Regions from separate parts of the Homo sapiens genome. Here region 1 is linked to region 2. Evidence: promoter capture Hi-C in human tissues and cell types (Jung and others, 2019). All regions are on one chromosome and are shown on one strand. Each heading gives the region's core, a stretch centred on a gene start or on the middle of the fragment in contact. The rest is flanking DNA. Distances are from core to core; before and after follow the strand shown. Region 1 overlaps TFB2M (transcription factor B2, mitochondrial). Region 2 holds the start of SCCPDH (saccharopine dehydrogenase (putative)).

The links. The method cuts DNA at HindIII sites, captures the fragments that hold promoters and counts their contacts. A contact is called where the count stands out against the background at its distance.
Region 1: a fragment that was not itself captured here is called in contact with the fragment with the promoter of SCCPDH in region 2 in 1 of the 25 tissues and cell types used here (lymphoblastoid cells).

The regions. Positions count from the first base shown.
Region 1 is chr1:246,540,995-246,546,326 of GRCh38, forward strand. TFB2M (transcription factor B2, mitochondrial) reads right to left here. Exons shown (of 8, transcript NM_022366.3): 7 at 3,527-3,687; 8 at 1-208. The coding sequence ends at 37. Among named protein-coding and RNA genes, the nearest start is that of LINC01743, 19 kb to the left of the region's middle. The HindIII fragment of the contact is 6,053 bases long and covers 1-4,699 here.
Region 2 is chr1:246,722,292-246,726,970 of GRCh38, forward strand. It overlaps SCCPDH (saccharopine dehydrogenase (putative)), which reads left to right and starts at 2,118. Exons shown (of 12, transcript NM_016002.3): 1 at 2,118-2,321; 2 at 4,601-4,679. The coding sequence starts at 2,132. RefSeq lists an enhancer at 1,552-1,711 and silencers at 1,922-2,051, 2,092-2,161, 2,262-2,471. The HindIII fragment of the contact is 7,574 bases long and covers 1-4,679 here.

The DNA.
Region 1 (5,332 bases), core at 423-2,922, 180 kb before region 2:
AAATGAACCGCTCCACCAAAAACGACAGTCTAGTTGCTACCTATCTTCCAGGGTTTCATCATACAGCCATTTATAAGCACAATCTTTGGAACGCTCTATAGTTTCAAAAAGTGTTTTGAAGTCTTGAGGGTGCATGTTAACTACTTTCTCATCCTCCTGTTTTCCTATTTGCATCAATATATCTCTCGCATCAAGTGGAGTCAATGAACTGCAAAAGAAATACAAAGTAAATGTACTTAATTCTTTCTCATGCATCTATCAGTTCACGGTGACAGAAATGGCTTCTAAGTTGAATTCAAAATGTCTAACTTAGGCATACAGAGTGCTATAATGGACACGGGAGAATCAGCAGGGAAGAGGATGGGAGGAGGGTGAAGGATGGGAGGAGGGTGAAGGATAAAAAGCTACCTACTGGGTACAATGTACACTATTTGGGCATGGGTACACTAAAAGCCCAGACTTCAACAATCCATCCATGAAACCAAAAAAATCACTTGTATTCCTAAGGCTATTGAAATAAGAAGAAAAAAAAAAGCCTAACTTATTATATATAAGCAATCTTATTTAGTTTAAGAGCTTCCAGTAACTTTATGCTTATTTCTAAAGTTTCATAGCTAACCTATAATGAAAATATTAATAGCAGGTTTAGGCTTTCACATACTCTAATCAATTTTTACACCGAATTCTAGTTTAATCACTGCCGTTTGAAAAAATTATTATGCCTACCTCTTTCATCCTTTTCCTTTCTGCAAAAAATATTCTTAACTTCTTTTGGTTCATGTCAAAGTTCAGTAACTATAAACAGCAGAAGTTGCTGTTTGGCAGTTTACAAAGAGGGAATCATTTTTCACATTTTGATGTAACCATCATTGGTAAATACATTATAAAGCCGCAAACTTCCTTATACAGTCATGCATTGCTTAATGATGGAGGTATGTCCTGAGAAATGCACTGTTAGGTGATTTCATTGTTGCTTGAACATCTTACAGAGTACTTAACCCAAACCTATGTGATATAGCCTATTACAGACTTAGGATATATGGCATAGCCTATTGCTCCAAGGATACAAACCTGCACAGCATGTTACTGTACTGAATACTGTAGGCAACTGTAACACAATGGTAAGTAATAGAAAAGATACAGTAAAAGATACAGCATCTTTATAATCTTATGGGACCACTATTGTACATTTGGTCCACTACTGACTGAAACGAGGTATAACGAACACGCCTCATTATGAGGTATTATATATATAAGGTATATTATATAATATATATACAATATATAATCAATGAGGTATATTATATACCATAATATGAGGTACATAACTGTGTATCAGCTTAGCAACAAACCATCAATAAGCCTCCAACAACAACAATTGTAAAAAAATATTTTGGGCTGGGTGCGGTGGCTCCTACCTGTTATCCCAGCACTTTGGGGGGCTAGGTGGGAGGATCATTTGAGCCCAAGAGTTCAAGACTATCCTGAGCAACATAGTGAGACCCCATCTCTACAAAAATCGTAAAAAGTTAGCTGGGCATAGTGGTGGGCATAGTAGTCCCAGCTACTCAGGGAAGAGGCTGAGGCAGGATCACTTGAGCAAGGGGTTTGTGGTTGCAGTGAGCTATGATTGTGCCACTGTACTCCAGACTGGGCAACAGAGTGAGACTCTCTGTCTGTTCAATTCCAATACTTTTTGATATTGAATAGAATCTTGGTAACATGTTTCTAGTCCACTGAGATTACCAGGAGCATTTTTAATATTTTGCACTATGATTTACAACATTTATTCCTTATTTCCCTATTTTCTTGATATTTTCATTCAAAATAGCCACAAGGTGGCAAGATGAAAAATAATAGATTGCCTTTTATTAGTCTATTGCCTTTTACTAGTCTATTACCACTTTTTTTTTTTTTTTTTTTTAGAGATAGAGTCTTGCTCTGTCACCCAGGCTCATCTCAAAGTCTTGTTGGCGCTCTCTGCCTCCCAATTTTTTTTTTTTTTTTTTTTTTAGAGACAAGGTCAGCTTGCTCTGTGTCCCACACTGCAATGCAGTGGTGAGTTTATGGCTCACTACAGCCTCCAATCCCCGGCCTCCTCAAGTGATCCTCCCACCTTGGCCTCACAAAAATGCTCGGATTACAGGCATGAACCACTGCACCCAGGCTATTGCCACTTTTAACATTTATTTTTAGATAAATATTGTCTAGTCAACAGCTCATTCAGAGTTAAATATTAAATGATCAAATTTGTTAAAATAATTATTTTAACATTTTACCCATCCTCTGGCGAGACTTTGAATGACTATGGGCTGCTGATTACAAGGCATAATGCACAACTTACAGGGACGTATGCATCAGCCCTACATACAAATTACATGGATTTATGTACAAATTACACAGATGGCTGGGCGCGGGAGCTCATGCCTGTAACCCCAACACTACTTACAGAGATGTATGCATCATCCCTACATACAAATTACATAGATGGCCAGGCGCAGTGGCTCATGCTGGTAACCTGAGCTGTACTTACAGAAGTGTGGGCATCAGGCCTACACACAAATTACATGGATGGCCAGGCATGGTGGCTCCCGCCTGTAACCCCAGCACTACTTACAGAGGTGTGTGCATCAGCCCTACATACAAATTACATGGATGGCCAGGTGCAGTGGCTCATGCCTGTAACCCCAGCACTTTGGGAGGCCAAGCAAGGTGGATTGCTTGAGGCCAGGAATTTGAGACCAGCCTGGGCAAGGTGGCAAAACCCCATCTCTACAAAAATTGGCATACAATTTATAAACACAAAATATAAATATAAAAATTTTATATTTTTACAAATATAAAAATTAGCCGGGCGTGGTGGTGCATGCTTGTAGTCCCAGCTACTCAGGAGGCTGAGGTGGGAGGATCACTTGAGCCTGGGAGGACAAGGCTGCAGTGAGCTGAGACTGTGCCACTACACTTCAGCCTGGACAACACAGCGAGACCCTGTCTCTAACAACAACAAAAAAATGTTTTTCACTTATATAGACATAAAGCAAGTAGTGTTACTTACAAGCTATTATTTTTACAAAGCTTTGGGTAAAAACAAAATTTGATCCAGAGCAAGGGAACCAGGGTGGTATAATTATCTATCCCTACTCTGGTTAAGGAACAGAACCACTGAAGACAAGCAATGAGAGGTAAGTGTGGGCACGCCTCCAGTAATGCTGATTTCTCTCCACCCCACTAGTGGTAGGCAGCTAGTGCTTCCTGTAAGATAAAGCTAAGCCCATACTCTCAAAAAGATTAAACAATCTGGGCATTTTTTTAAAGAAGGAAAAATAAATGAAACTCAATGAGAGATTATGGGAAAAATATATTTTCCTCAAAATGTACACCAGGGAGAACAAATTATTTTGAAGAAATATGAGGGAAAACATGGTACCTCACTCTGTCAATCAAGATATAAAAATAGATCTCTAGCATGAAAGAATAATTTGTGCATCGTTGCTACTTTATACTTGCTTTTATTCTTTTTACTCACCGTAAGTGGTCTATTACAGTGGCGCTGCGCCTCCCAAAACAGTGCTTTAACAAGTGAAAAAATATATTATAGTTCATAGGTGTTAAGTTCTTGGTAAATAAATTTTGACGAGGAATCATTTGAATAAGATACAGCTTTTGTTGTAATTGGTCTAATAATTCCTGGAGAGAAGAAAAAATGAATTGCATTAGTCACAAAATATTGCCAGAGTAAGACATTGCTCACTTCTTCCTTCAAGCTATCTGCTGAAAGACACAATCACCACAGGCCCTGAGTGTCTTCACATTCTCTTTTTCTTTCTTGGAGATAGAGTCTCACTCTGTCGCCCAGGCTGGAGTACAACGGCGTGATCTCCACTCACTGAAAGCTCCATCTCCCGGGTTCATGCCATTCTCCTGCCTCAGCCTCCCGAGTAGCTGGGACTACAGGCGCCCACCACCACGCCTGGCTAATTTTTTGTATTTTTAGTAGAGATGGGGTTTCACCGTGTTAGCCAGGATGGTCTCGATCTCCTGACCTCGTGATCCGCCCGCCTCGGCCTCCCCAAAGTGCTGGGATTACAGGCGTGAGCCACCGTGCCCGGCCCACATTTTCTTATTGTGTACACCAAGAACACAAAGCCCTAATTGGTCTTTACCAATGAATTGGGCCATTTCTCAGAGTTGTTTGTGATGAGTAACCTTGAGGGAGGAGATAACGTCTCTCTCCAGGACAAAGAGCAGGCCTGTGGCTGGGTGCAGTGGCTCATGCCCATGATCCCAGCACTTTGGGAGGCCAAGGCGTGGATCACTCGAGGTCAGGAGTTCAAGACCAGCCTGGACAACGTGGCAAAACCCCATCTCTATAAAAAATAAATTAGCTGGGTGTGGTGGTGTGTGCCTGTAGTCCCAGCTACTCGGGAGGCTGAGGTGGGAGGATGGCTTGAGCCCAGGAGGTGGAGGCTGAGAGCATGCCACTGCACTCAAGGCTGGTTGACAGAGCCAGGCCTTCTCTTAAAAAAACAAAAGGGCAGGCTTGCTTAATGTTTGCTATGAAGGAGGAGGATTCATTGGGAGGCTGAGGTGGGCAGATCGCTTGAGCCCAGGAGTTCAAGACTAGCCTGGACAACATGGCGAAACCCTGTCTCTACAAACAGTACAAAAATTGGCAGGGTATGGTGGTGCATGCCTGTAGCCCCAGCTACTTAGGAGGCTCAGATGGGAGGATGCTTGAGACTGCTGCGTGGAGTTTGCAGTGAGCCGAGATTACGCCATTGCACTCCAGCCCGGGTGACAGAGCAAGACCCTGATTCGAAAAAAAAAAAAAAAAAAAAAAGACCTAGATTCCCCCAGCTCTGTACTTCTCAGCTGCAAAGCAAGTCCACTAAATGCAAGGCACCCAACTGAGCCACCTCACATCACTCCATGGGAAGAGAGGCACAGAACATCCTCTGTCTGATCCAGGAGTCTTAGGCCAACATCCGAGAAACAGTAACATTTATTAACATGTAAGTAGGGTAAAATCAAATCCCAGACATGAGGCCGGGTTGCTCACACCTACAATCCAACACTTTGGGAGGCCGAGGCAGGAGGATCGCTGGAGCCCAAGAGTTAGCGACCAGCCTGGGCAACACAGGGAGACTCCTTCTTTACAAACAAACAAACTAGCTGGGCGTGGGATGCACATCTGTGGTCCCAGCTATTTGGGAGGTTGAGGTGGGAGGATCACTTGAGTCCCGGGAGTTTGAGGCTGCAGTAAGCCGTGATTATGCCACTGCACTCCAGCCTGGGAGAAGAGTGAGACACTGTCTTTTAAAAAAAGAAAAAA
Region 2 (4,679 bases), core at 868-3,367:
TCTTTCAACTACCAGCTCTTGTATGAACTTATGCAGAGAGAACATACTCATTATCCTGGGGATGGCACCAAGCCATTCATGAGGGATCCACCCCCATGACCCAAACATCTCCCACCAGGCCCCACCTCCAATGCTGGGGATTACATTTCAACATGTGATTTGGGGGGGCCAAACATCCAAACCATAGCAAGCATGCTTCCCAAAAAACAAAATATATATATATATATATATATATATATATATATATATATATATATTCTGTTTTTTTAGGGTTTTTTGTTTTCTTTTGTTTTTATTTTCTTTTTAGAGACAATATCTCACTTTGTCACCCAGGCTGGAGTGTAGCTCACTATAACCTCCAACTCCTAGGTTCAAGCAATCCTCCTGCCTCAGCCTCCCAAGTAGCTGGGACTAAAAGTGCATGCCACTGTACCTGGCTCTGTAAGATTATTTTTTAGTGACTGTTTACTCCACTAGAATGTAAACTTCTTGAGGGCAGGGGCTTTATTTGTTGCCATATCCCCAGTACTTTATTCCTAGTGCCCAGTATATAGTTAAGTGTTTAATAAATACTTGAATGCTTACTACTTTACACCCACCAGATGGACAAGCATGAAGTCTGAGAATACCAAGTGCTGACAAGCACGTAAAGCAAGAGGATTCTTGTATCCCGCTGAGAGCGAAAATTAGTGCATGTGCTTTAAAGAGCAGTGAGATAACTCAAATATGGATATTCTAGCACCAACCATTTTCATTCCTGACACATATTCAATACACTTTCGCACAGGTGCTTTAGGAGAAAGGTACAAGAATTTTATTGTAGCATTCTTTGTATTATATTGCACAAAAGCACTATACAACATTGTACAAAAGCATTGTAGAATTTGGTGTATTTCTCTCTCTCTCCCTCTCTCCACACACGTATCACAGACATTTTTTTTTATTCTGAATCATTTGGGAATAAGTTCACGACATCATGACCAAATAAGAAAGCTGCAGGATTGACATTTACAAAATATTCAAAATATGCAAAACGGTACTATAATATTTATAAATACATACATATATAACAAGCAGAAAGATAGGAATAGGAATAATAAACACTAAATTCAGGCAAGTGGCCGTCTTGGGGACGCAAAAGGAAATGTGTTCAGGAATGAATACCTGGAAGCCTCGCTATCTGGAATATTTTTCTTAAGCTGTGTTGAGGGTACATATTTGTTATTGGCTGTACCTTTTTTGCAAGACATATATTTCAAAATTTTTAAAAGCATTCATTTATTCCTATTTTAATGAGAGTTTTTAAAAATCAGGAATGGGCTGGGTGCAGTGGCTCATGCGTGTAATCCCGACCCTTTGGGAGGCCGAGGTGGGTGGATCACCTGAGGTCAGGAGTTCGAGACCAGCCTGGCCAACAAGGTGAAAACCCATCTCTACTAAAAACACAAAAATTAGCAGGGCGTGGGGGCGCTCCCCTGTAATCCCAGCTACTCGGGAGGCTGAGGCAGAATCGCTTGAACCCAGGAGGCGAAGGTTGCAGTAAATCGAGATCGCGCCACTGCGCTGCAGCCTGGGCGACAGAGTGAGACTCCATCTCAAAAACAGAAAAGAGAAAAGAAAGGGAAAAAAGGGAAGAAAGAAAGGAAGAAAGCAAGCAAGCTCAAGGGTTCTCGGGGTGGGCCATCCCCGAGGCCATCCGCAGATTTTCTCGCACTCTTTGCTCCACCCCCACGTGCAACAAGGACAACCGGCTGCCGCCTCCAGCTTCCAGCAGGGCTAGAAGATGCGCTGCCCGGGGCGGCCAGAGCCCTGCAGAACAAACCGCCGCACGGAATTAGGGGCCGCCGTCCGCGCCTGCCAGGCTTGGAAGCGGACTCGCCCCCAGGGCCACCGCCCTAGGAAACCTCCCGTCGGAAGCCTCCCAAGCAAGCCGCTCACCCGCGGCTCCCGCGCGAGGCGGCGTGGGCGTGGGCGCGGCCCTGGCGCGGCGGCGCGCGCGGGGTGAAGGGAGCCCGGCGCGCTGGCTGCGGCGACGGCGGCCGTTGCTGCGCCGGGTACTGGGGTCGCTGCCTGAGGCGCAGGCGCCGTGGACTCCACCCGCCCCGGGGCCTGGGCTCGCTGTGGACTCGTCATGGCGACCGAGCAGAGGCCTTTCCACCTGGTGGTGTTCGGCGCGTCTGGCTTCACCGGCCAGTTCGTGACCGAGGAGGTGGCCCGGGAGCAGGTGGACCCGGAGCGGAGCTCCCGCCTGCCCTGGGCCGTGGCGGGCCGCTCCCGGGAGAAGCTGCAGCGGGTGCTGGAGAAGGCGGCCCTGAAGCTGGGTACAGCGGCGGGGCGGGACGGGGCTGCGCGGGCGGCTGGGCCGGGGACCCCGCATCGCCCCAAACGAGCGTTTCTCCCGCAGGGATGCGCCCTACGTGTCCCCGAGCCCTGCGTGAGGACAAGAAGAGGAGAGGGAGAGATGTTTCAAATACTGCCATAGCTTTGTCCCACCTCCTTAACTATATGTGTGTGTGCGCGTGCGTGTATAATATACACACACATTTTTTTTTCTTTCCTTCTCCTCTTTCCCGCTTTTTGCATTTCTGCCTCAGTTTGGGGAGCTCCCCTGGCGAAATGGTCAAGAACTTGAGTTGTCCCTCTCTCTGCTTCATCCTGCCCCGCAGCGGGGGCACCTGTTGAATCTGCGGGTTTCTAGATGTTTGGTCGGAGAGGAGAGGAGGGCTTTGGTCTCTTGGAGATCGGAGTCTCCCTTTGCCTCGTGTTTTGAGGACGGGAGAGCAAGCTTACGAGTTGTACTGACAGTGTCTTTGTGGCTATTCTGTTTTAGTTTCTTGTTTTGTGTGTAAGAATACTCCAGCAGTCTTCCTCTTCAGAGAATAAAAAGTGTGTATTTCTGGTTTAGACGCTTACGTATTCTCTAAGCATTCAGGTAGCATGTATTTATTGATAATCTAAGCATTCAGGTAGCATATATTTATTGATAATCTAAGCATTCAGGTAGCATATATTTATTGATTCTCTAAGCATTGAAGGAGCATATATTTATTGAGTGACGTTGTCCATGCTAAGACCTGTCCCGAGTCTGGGGTGCAGGATGGGACAGAGAGGAGACAGACACACGGATCCTGCTGCCTTCATGGCTGGGGAGACATCTGACTTACGACTCCGTAGCCTTTAAATTTGGCTATTAACTCCCGTAGATTTCCCTTATACAGACACCCATTAGAGTTCTGGAAATACTACATTCTTTCTGTTTAATCTACTTTCATACAATGCCCTGCTCGGAGTGCTTTTGTTCGTGGTTATGTACAGAAGACACCACGTAGGCTGGACTCTCCTACAGCTTTTGGTGCTGACACTACCAACACGTAATTCTGACCAAAGAGCTTTTTGGTCGTTATTTTTCCAACAGAAGTAATTTTACTATGAAAATATATGCTTCCATTTCTTTTTTCGGCTCAGCAAGATCGTACCGGTACAGCCTAGTCACTTATCATATATAATGCCCAAATCAAGTTTCATTGTGGGGGGATATACCTTCACCTATTGAAACCTGCATCACTTAGTTGAGCCAGTTAATTCCAATTATTTTCTTATGAGCCTGTGTGTGTTTATATAGCGTGTGCTTTTCACCTCAGAGTTCTAATTTTTTGTTTTTTGTTTGTTTGTTTGCCATTCTCCTGCCTCAGCCTCCTGAGTAGCTGGGACTAGAGGCGCCCGCCACCACGCCCTGCTAATTTTTTTAGTAGAGACGGGGTTTCACCGTGTTAGTGAGGATGGTCTCGATCTGCTGACCTCGTGATCCACCCTTCTCGGCTTTCCAAAGTGCTGGGATTACAGGCGTGAGCCACTGCACCCAGCCCTGATGGTTTTGATGTTAACAGTCAGTCCGAAACTCTCCATCACCTACAATTGGATCATAGTAATTGTTTAGTGGTTGATGAGAAACTTTATTTTTTTAAAGACAAGTTCTCATTCTGCCACCCAGGCTGGAGTACAGTGGCGTGATCACAGCTCACTGCAGCCTTGACCTCTGTGTCTAAGTGATTCTACCGCCTCAGCCTCCTGAGTAGCTGGTACTACAGGCTATGCCACCATGTCAGATAATTTTTTTTTTTTTTTTAGTAGAGACAAGGTCTTGCTATGTTGCCCAAGCTGGTCTGGAACTCCTGAGGTCAAGAGATCCTTGCACCTTGACCTTCCAAAGTGCTGAGCCACTGCCCCTGGCCAAGAAACTATTTTATGACATAAATTTCTTGTTGGAGAGGAAGTCTGGATAGTTATCTGCTCAGCATTTAAACTTGATTGTGAAATTGTCATGTTACACAGGGTTGTTATTTACACAACGCTTTGATTCGATTTTTTTTAAAAGGTCAGTTTTTTAGTAACTCTTAGTGTTAACTCAGTTTTCCTCATAATTTTTTCCTTTTGTATTACCTGATTAAAAACAGTTTTATCTTTTGTCTAAGCAGGAGAGCTAGCTTTCAGCATATCAGTGTATTTAGTAATTTGCTGTCACTGATTACTGTAAAAAGAAGATAAGGAAGATATAATCCTCTACTGGGATTTACTTTCCTTCATTTGTTTCTTATTTTAGGAAGACCAACACTGTCATCTGAAGTTGGAATCATCATCTGTGATATTGCTAATCCAGCCTCGCTTGATGAAATGGCTAA